2 separate regions of the Homo sapiens genome follow, and region 2 is linked to region 1. The links are contacts of gene promoters, found by promoter capture Hi-C in human tissues and cell types (Jung and others, 2019). All regions are on one chromosome and are shown on one strand. Each heading gives the region's core, a stretch centred on a gene start or on the middle of the fragment in contact. The rest is flanking DNA. Distances are from core to core; before and after follow the strand shown.

The links. The method cuts DNA at HindIII sites, captures the fragments that hold promoters and counts their contacts. A contact is called where the count stands out against the background at its distance.
Region 2: a contact is called between a fragment that was not itself captured here and the fragment with the promoter of ZNF136 in region 1, in 4 of the 25 tissues and cell types used here (aorta, dorsolateral prefrontal cortex, lymphoblastoid cells and 1 more).

What each region holds. Positions count from the first base shown.
Region 1 is chr19:12,160,740-12,165,153 of GRCh38, reverse strand. ZNF136 (zinc finger protein 136) reads right to left here and starts at 2,058. Exons shown (of 4, transcript NM_003437.5): 1 at 1,948-2,058. The coding sequence starts at 1,950. RefSeq lists enhancers at 1,958-2,117, 2,128-2,217. The HindIII fragment of the contact is 18,447 bases long and covers 1-4,414 here.
Region 2 is chr19:12,274,676-12,279,089 of GRCh38, reverse strand. It overlaps ZNF44 (zinc finger protein 44), which reads left to right. Exons shown (of 4, transcript NM_016264.4): 2 at 3,008-3,134; 3 at 4,057-4,117. Among named protein-coding and RNA genes, the nearest start is that of ZNF44, 18 kb to the left of the region's middle. The HindIII fragment of the contact is 9,813 bases long and covers 1-4,414 here.

The DNA.
Region 1 (4,414 bases), core at 809-3,308:
GAGATAGTTTTTCTCCCTTCACAAGGCTGAGAGAATACAAAGGACAGGAATCATTTCCGTCTTTTCCCTTGTCGACCTAAAAAGTAGAGGCTGAAACACAAAATATGACCCAAAGTGTCTGAAAAAGGGGGACAGGATGTGGGCTGATACAAAGTTGTTTGTCAGGAATTCTCACTGATTTACAGAAGTAACATTGATAAGCGCGTGGCTATGCACTGTTAAGCTATAGGGTGTGGGTTCCAGGGTCCCGTGTTGCATTAGTAAGTTGATTATACCTACTTGTGGCAATAGCAGTTTCAAAAGATGAATTCATAGCTTCAGGGAGTTAGAAGGTGATTGCTGTATCACTTGAATGTCTCTATGTGCCCGTTCATTTAAAAGGACCCACATTTATCAGACGAAAATTATTTTTTTGAGGCCGGGTACAGTTACGCCTGTAATCCCAGCACTCTGGGAGGCCAAGGCAGGCGGATCGCGAGGTCAGGAGATCAAGACCATCCTGGCTAACAAGGTGAAACTCCGTCTCTACTAAAAACACAAAAAATTAGCCGGGCGTGGTGGCATGCGCCTGTAGTCCCAGGTACTGGGGAGGCTGAGGCAGGAGAATCGCTTGAATCCGGGAGGCAGAGGTTGCAGTGAGCCGACATCACGCCACTGCACTCCAGCTTGGGCGACAGAGAGACTCCGTCTCAAAAAAAAAAAAAAAAAAAAAAAGTTATCTGGGAGTGGTGGCGCAAAACTGTGGTCCCAACTACAGGGGAGGCTGAGGCAGGAGAATCGCTTGAACCCAGAAGATGGAGGTTGCAGTGAGCCGAGATCACGTCACTGCACTCCAGCCTAGGCGACAGAGCGAGACTCTTTCAAAACACACAAAAAATTTTCTTTTCTCAATCCTCAATACCAGCATCTGATTGGCTGACCACCAGTGTGTCTCCAAAGGATGGAAACTGGGGTTGGGGGAGGAAAAGCTGAGTGCCCCCAGAGGTTGGCTATTTAGAAGCAGGGTATGCTAGATTTATCCTAGTCCCAGGGCATTCTCCCAGCCTTCTATTTCAACTGTCCTCTAGGAAGACTCACCCAAGACCCAATATTCACTAGATCCTCCAAGAGACTTGGCAGCTGTGGGCAGCTTGAGTCAGCCCCAGACAGTTTTGAAACCCAGAACCAGGAAAAAATAAATAGGAGGGGGCGCTGAAGGCATATCACCCTGTAAAGATTCCAAAGGGGAACCTCAACTCAAAGACATTCTGATGAGGTATCTGTGCATAGAGGAGACAAAAGGACAAGCACAAAGGTTTCTTACAGCGGAGTGTCAAGGCTATGAACAGAAAACAAACCTTGATGAAAGAGTAATCCATTGCTTTGTTGAAAAATAAACAATGAAAGCACAATATCTGAAATGTAGAATATAGGAGAAACGGTTGCTAATGTCGTGAATGGAAGGGGAGAGGTTGGCGTTTGGAAAAGCGAAAAGAGAACAGGAAATTTGGGGATTTACTGCAAGCCCTGGAAACAGCAGGCTGGGGGACAGAGTGAGGATTTGGGACCCTGCATCCCATACACTTAGAAAACTCAGGGAAAAACGGGTGTCCTCTGTGGAGAGAAAAGGAACTGGGAACCTCATACACCACAGCTCCTTCCACGCACAAGTCAGGATTTCCCCCACCCCATGACCCTCGCGTGGGCCCCGCACAATCTGAAGAGACTTGGGTCTTCGGGGCCGGGGCCGCAATCGCGGCACAGGGCGGGACGAGGACGCCCGGGGTCCCGGCTGCCGGCCCAGCCCCACCCTGAGGCCGAGGGTACCAAGGGCTGAGCTGCGCCAGAGGGACTCGGTACGCAGACCCAGAGTCGCCCACGGGAAGGCCCGGGCCGCGCCACAGCCAGTTCCGGTCGTCCAACCAGCCCCTCCTCCCTGTCTCGGGACGCAGGGCCCGACACACTCACCATTTCCTGACTCCCGGGTGTCCCAGCTTCCTCCCTCCGGATCCCAAGGCAGGTACAGGAAACCGCGCCACAGAGACTCCAGGCGAGCCACTCTGGGCCTCTGGGACTAGCGAAGCGAAACCAAGTACGGCAGACGCGAGAAATGAAAATCCCGCGAGAAGGTTGAACGTCTGCAGCTGCGTCCCCGACGGCGCGCCTGATTGGACCGATCGCAGAGCTCCTCCCCGGTGCCCCTGATTGGGTACAGCTTCGGGCTCTGCCCCCTGCATCTTGACAGATGTGAATGACAGGAGATGTGAAGCATAGATGAGTGAAGCGGGAATGAGGGGTCTTGGCCCCAGCCCTCAAACGCAGGGTGGACTTCTTCCCCTCGTCCCCTTCACTGTACTTGGTCTGCGGGGGATGGGGAGATGGGAGATACTTGCATTTTAGCAGAACTTAATCCGGGTTTACCAAAGGAGATACTTCCTGTACTCAGTGGGTCATTTCTTCATCTACCTCTTGCATGAGGAGTCACAGGTGTGCGCAGGGAGTTCCAGGCAGGACTGGAACAGAAGAAAGGGCGTGATATTCCCAGGGATCGGAAATTTGGGATGAGGATATGGGAAGCGTGCCCAAGGCTTTCTCATACCATACCTCTTTATCTCTCTCTATTTTTTACTTTATTTACTTATTTATTACTTTATTTACTTATTTATTACTTTATTTATTTATTTGAGACAGGGTCTAGCTCTGCCACCCAGGTTAGAGTGCAATGGCATGATCATAGCTCACTGCAGCCTCCATCTCCTGGGTTCAAGCGAACCTTCCGCTTCAGTCCCCTGAGTAGTAGAGACTACAGGTACATGCCACCAAGCCCGGCAAATTCTTTAATTTTTTGTAGAGACGGGATTTCGTTTGTTGTCCAGGCTGGTCTTGAACTCCTAGCCTCAAGTGAACCTCCCACTTTCGCCTCCCAAATCAATCTACTCATTTTCACCCAAGAAAATAAAAAACTGCCAACAAGTGAATAAAATTATTAAATACATGGAAAAACAAGTTCTATTTCCGTAATCTGTAAAGAAATCAAAAGGGAAGTAAAGCGAAAATTTGAACTAGCTCAGATAAGCAGGGCACTTCAGAACATTTAAAAAGGAAAAGATGAATTCAGAAGGTAGAACATATTCCCAAGCTTAAGAGTCAGTGACTGCTGAAGTGGAGCCACAGAGTACATTAGACCCTGATGATGAGGCAGGAAACCTAAGGATTTAACTCTGGGAGCTCAACATGCCCTCCTGTCACAGCATCACAATGTGGGAACGCTCCCTCCTTCAATACCTTAATAATTTACACCAGCAGAAAACTCTCACCTGTGGTCAATTTAGGCCCCTTGAAATTCCAACCTCTCTAGCTCATAAACCATTTCTCTGGAACGCTACCTAAATGAGTCTCTAAATATGATCTTTACATATTTTCTTCATATATACAAATTACAGCCTGACTGCAGCAACTCTATACATAGAAAAATCAAGGCCGGGCACAGTGGTTCATGCCTGTAATCCCCAACACTTTGAGAGGCCGAGGCGGGCGGATCACTTGAGGTCAGGAGTTCAAAACCAGCCTGGCCAAGATGGCGAAACCCCGTCTCTACTAAAATTACAAAAATTAGCCGGGCGCCTATAATCCCAGCTTCTGGGGAGGCTGAGGCACAAGAATCGCTTGAACCCGGGAGGTAGAGGTTCCAGTGAGCCGAGATCGCGCCACTGCACTCCAGCCTGGGTGACAGAGCAAGACTCCGTCTCAAAAAACAAAAAGTTTTCCGGAAAACTACCTTGGGAAACTAGAGGTACAACCTCAGAAAGGAGAGAAACCCGCACGTGCATTTGCCTGTGAAGTTCCTGCTTTCCAGGGCTCTGCAGCTTCTCAGAATCCACACTCCTGGAGCTGGAGCTGGAGCTGTTCGGAGCAGCTGGAGACTACCTACAGGGGAAGGCAGGCTGCCCAGGAAGCAATCGGGGGAGCTCCCTTTCCCTCCCTTTGCAGGCTCCAGATTAGTCTCAGTGTGGATCACCGGCCTCAGGCTATGCTGCCCCCTGCAAGTTTTCCACCTGCTTTTCACCCACATTGTTCAGTTCCACGAGGCAAACACCCTCAATCCCAGTGTTCGAAAGAGAATCCAGCAGAGTCCCTGCTTTCCTCCTGTGTTTACCGTAAAGTAGAAGAGAAAAATTTCAAGACAGTTTTAAGTGGATTTTAAAACTGGCAAATAATTATTCCTTTGATAAAATGAAGAAGCCAGCAAACTATTATTTCGACATTAACAAACTGTTATATAAAACCACTAATGAAGGTCGGGCGCGGTGGCTCACGCCTGTAATCTCAGCACTTTGGGAGGGCGAGGCGGGCGGATCACCTAAGGTTAGGAGTTCGAGACCAGCCTGACCAACATGGAGAAACCTCGTCTCTAAAAGTACAAAATTAGCCAGGC
Region 2 (4,414 bases), core at 880-3,379, 110 kb before region 1:
CTGACAGAGATTTCCTGAATGTTAGAAGCTAAAAGTAAAAAAGAAGATGAAACAAACAAAAACCTGACCTCTTCCAGTCTTCATGGATGGCTCTCTGCTGGGGCATTCTTTGAGCACTTAGCCACAGTATTTACTACTGTAGCCTTCTCTTTCTGTTTAAATCTGGATGTTAGCCAGAGCTGAAAAACAGAATCCCCACCCATCTTTTATAAAAATATATTGTTTCCTGTGCCTGCGTGGGGCTTTCTCCATTCCCCAGTATATCTGGGTGCTTTCAAATATGCTTATTTGTAAAGAAAAATTATACCCTAGCCTTTTCTCCTGGGACTTAGATGGTCTAATATATGTCTTTTTTTTTTTTCCTTGAAATAGTGTCACTCTTTCACTCAGACTTGAGTGCAGTGGCACAATCGTGGTTCACTGCAGCCTCAACCTCCTAGGCTCAAGCAATTCTCCTACTTTCCTGAGTAGCTGGGACTACAGGCATGCGCCACCATACCCACCTAATTTTGTTTATTTTTTGTAGAGATGAGGTCTCCCCACATTGCCCAGGCTGGTCTTGAACTCCTTGCCTTTAAGCAATCTGACCCCCTTGGTGCCGAGACCAGCTCAGTCGTGGAGAGCCTAACCCAGCGGCACTAGAGGAATTAAAGACACACACACACAGAAATTTAGAGTGTGGAGTGGGAAATCAGGGGGCTGACAGCCTTCAGAGCTGAGAGCCACAAACAGAGTTTTACCCACATATTTATTGACAGTAAGCCAGTGATAAGCGTTGTTTCTATAGATTATAGACTAACTAAAAGCCTTCCTTACGGGAAACAAAGGGAAGGGCTCTGGCTAGTTATCTGCAGCAGGAACTTGTCCTTAAGGCACAGATGGCCCATGCTATTGTTTGTGGTTCAGGAACGCCTTAAGCAGTTTTCCACCCTGGGTGGGCCAGGTGTTCCTTGCCCTCATTCCGGTAAACCAACAACCTTCAGCATGTGCGTCATAGCCATCACGAGCATGTCACAGTGCTGCAGAGATTTTGTTTATGGCTAGATTTGGGGGCCTGTTCCCAACACCTTGGCCTCCCAAAGTACTGGGATTACAGGTGTGAGCCACCACACCTGGCCTTCTAATGTATGTCTTAGTCATCTTGTGTTGTCCTAGGTGGTTGCACACTTTTTGTGTATTTTACAACATTTTAAAGTAGTTCCTGCCCAGTTTGACTCTGATTGGATTCTGTTGTAGATGAAATAGAAAAGAGAGCCTTGTTTCAGACCTTCGGTTAGTCCCCAGACTGATTCAAAAATACAAAGGCAATAATGTGGAAACAAAATGTGATCTGTACACTCTGTGGTGATCAGAGTTCTACACTGGGAACTCTGCTGTCTTCAGGACTGGCAATGAGATGGGCAGAGATGGGGCCAAAGAAAAAACAATACAAGGCTTTTCTATCATTTTTCACTTTCCTGTTTATGTATCTTTTTCTCTCTGTTAATAGTATGGGATGTGAAAAATTACAGTTTTAAATCTTCTGTTTGTTTTTGTAAAGCTGTCTACTTTCTTGATGAGAAGGTTTTTTTTAAGCATCTTTAGACATTTATGACTTCTATAAAAATTGGTTTATGTAATGTTATTGATTATTAAATGTCTGCTGTTGAGATTTATGGAATATAATTGATATTCATGAAAGCTGACACTGAATTCTGTCTAAGAACATTTGCAGTCTGTCCTCTTCTTTTCTTTCTCCTTCGACATTACCCAGTAGAAAGTTACAATTTTTTCTATTTAGTTGGTAAAATCTCTTTTATTAGTCTTTTGTCATACTTAACTACATTTGATCTACAGGGAACCAGTCACCAGCTTCCAAATATTCTCTCTGTGTAATCACGTAGGATAGGCTAAATCCCCCAAGTAAGACATTGAAAAAACAACAACAACAAAAATATGAAATATCATCTACCAGAGTTGCACATTAGGGACCCTGTGCCTAGAGTGTTTCTTTGTGTATGTCTTAGTCTATAAGACTGTTTTTTTGTTACTTACAACAGGATACCAGAACTGGGGTAATCTATAAGAAATGATATTTATTTTTTGCAGTTCTGAAAGCTGGGAAGATCAAGTAAGGTCAAAGTGGGCATCTGGTGGGAATCTTCTTGCTGATGGGGACTCTGTAGAGTCCCTGGGTGGTACAGGGCATTACATGATGAGGGGGCTGAGTGTCTAGCTGAAGTATCTTCCTCTTCTCATAAGGACACCAGAACCTCATCTGTGATAACCAGTTTATTTATTAAGCCATTCATACATGAGTGGATTAATCCATCCATGTGTTCCAAACCCTCAAGACCCACTCACCTCTTAAACCACTACCTTTGATTACTTCCACATTGGAGATTCAGTTTCAGCCTGCATTTTGGAGGGGAAGACATTCAAACCTAGCAGTGGCTGATTGGGTACACTTCCTCTGCTGAGGATGTAATACAATTCCAAACTCTCAGAGGGAAGTTAGGAGTTAAGCAAATACCATAATTTTTACACAAATAGTTTAGGCACACTCCACCCCCTTTATTAGTTATGCTTACGGGGCCCTCCCCTAAATACATTGTCTAGACACCACGAAAGGTTCAACATTGTGAACAAGCAGTTGTAAGGATATGCCGTCTCAGGACTGCTAATTGTAACTCTCTTTTGCACAGTAGGTGGTAGGACTTTGTCATGACAAGGACTACAGACCCACTGTAGAAACAGACATTAGGAGTAATCCAGGCAATAAGATTCACTTGCATAATTCACCAATAAGAGATATGTTCCTACTCAACTGTTATTTTAGCAAGCCCAATTCCAGCATCAGAATTCCAGCATCAGACAGTGAGTGCAGACACAGAATAAGAGTGGATTTACCACGTCATTGAATAAATGCTTGGAAACCACAGCATCATGGGAAGTTTATGAAGGTGAGTATAGGTTCTCAGTACTGTGAGTTTCAACCTTCCTTTTCTGGACATATGGGATGTTTCAGGACTCAGTGGCCTTTGAGGATGTGGCTGTGAACTTCACCCATGAGGAGTGGGCTTTGCTGGGTCCATCACAGAAGAATCTCTACAGAGATGTGATGCGAGAAACCATTAGGAACCTGAACTGTATAGGTATGGATGACATCATGTCTTCATTTGGTCAATTAGAGACATTTGTTTTGTGGTCATCAATGCTGTTCAGTGATTTGAAATATGGAAAAGGGATACAGTTCATTCCTGAACAACACAGGGTGAAGTGCCAGGCCCCAACCTGTTGTATGTCCTCATATAATCTTTTGTCTGCCACAGCTTAACCTACTTTTGACCAGCAGCCTTATCAGTCATATAAACAAGTGACGAGCACATATATGTCATATGTATTGCATACTGTATTCTCAGAATAAAGTAAGTTAGAGAAAGTAAATTTTTTTTCTTTTTTTTTGAGATGGAGTCTTGCTCTGTCGCCCAGGCTGGAGTGCAGTGGCTCCATCTTGGCTCACTACAAGCTCCGCCTCCCGGGTTCACACCATTCTTGCCTCAGCCTCCTGAGTAGCTGGGACTACAGGCGCCCGCCACCATGCCCAGCTAATTTTTTGTATTTTTAGTAGAGACAGGGTTTCAACATGTTAGCCAGGATGGTCTCGATCTCCTGACCTTGTGATCTGCCCACCTCGGCCTCCCAAAGTGCTGGGATTACAGGCATGAGCCACTATGCCCGGCCTAGAGAAAGTAAATATTAATAAGAAAATCTTAAGGAAGAAAAACTATATTTACTCTGCATTAAGTTGAAATGGATCATCATGAAGGTTTTCATCCTCATCTTCACATTGAGTAGGCTAACTAAGAAGAGGGGTTGATATTGCTGTCTCAGGGGTAGCAGAGACTGAAGAACATTTATATATAAATGGACTTGTGCAGTTCAAACCTGTGTTGTTCAGGAGTCAACTATAGTTCAATGAATGAATCATACATGATTGTAGTGTACATAAAATCTTAACAATTTTTGTATCATTTTGTAATAATTTATAGTGAATTTTCTGGATCTCTCTTTTAGGAATGAAATGGGAAAACCAGAACATTGATGATCAGCACCAAAATCTCAGGAGAAATCCAAGGTAATTTGTACTTATAAGAGACAGGTGATGTCCTTGCAGTGTTTCTGAGAATGACAAGAACTTTTAAAAAGAAGCAAAGATTATGAACAAGCCCAGCTTAAATTTATTTATTCTTAGAAAAATTTCTCTATAAAAATATATTATTAAATGTGACATAAATATATTATTAAATGTGACATAGCTATTCAGTGTTTGCAAAGTAGTTCCCATGGAAACAATATTAAGATTTCCCATATGAGGCTGGGTGTGGTAGCTCATGCCCGCAATCCCAGCACTTTGGGAGGCTGAGACAGGAGG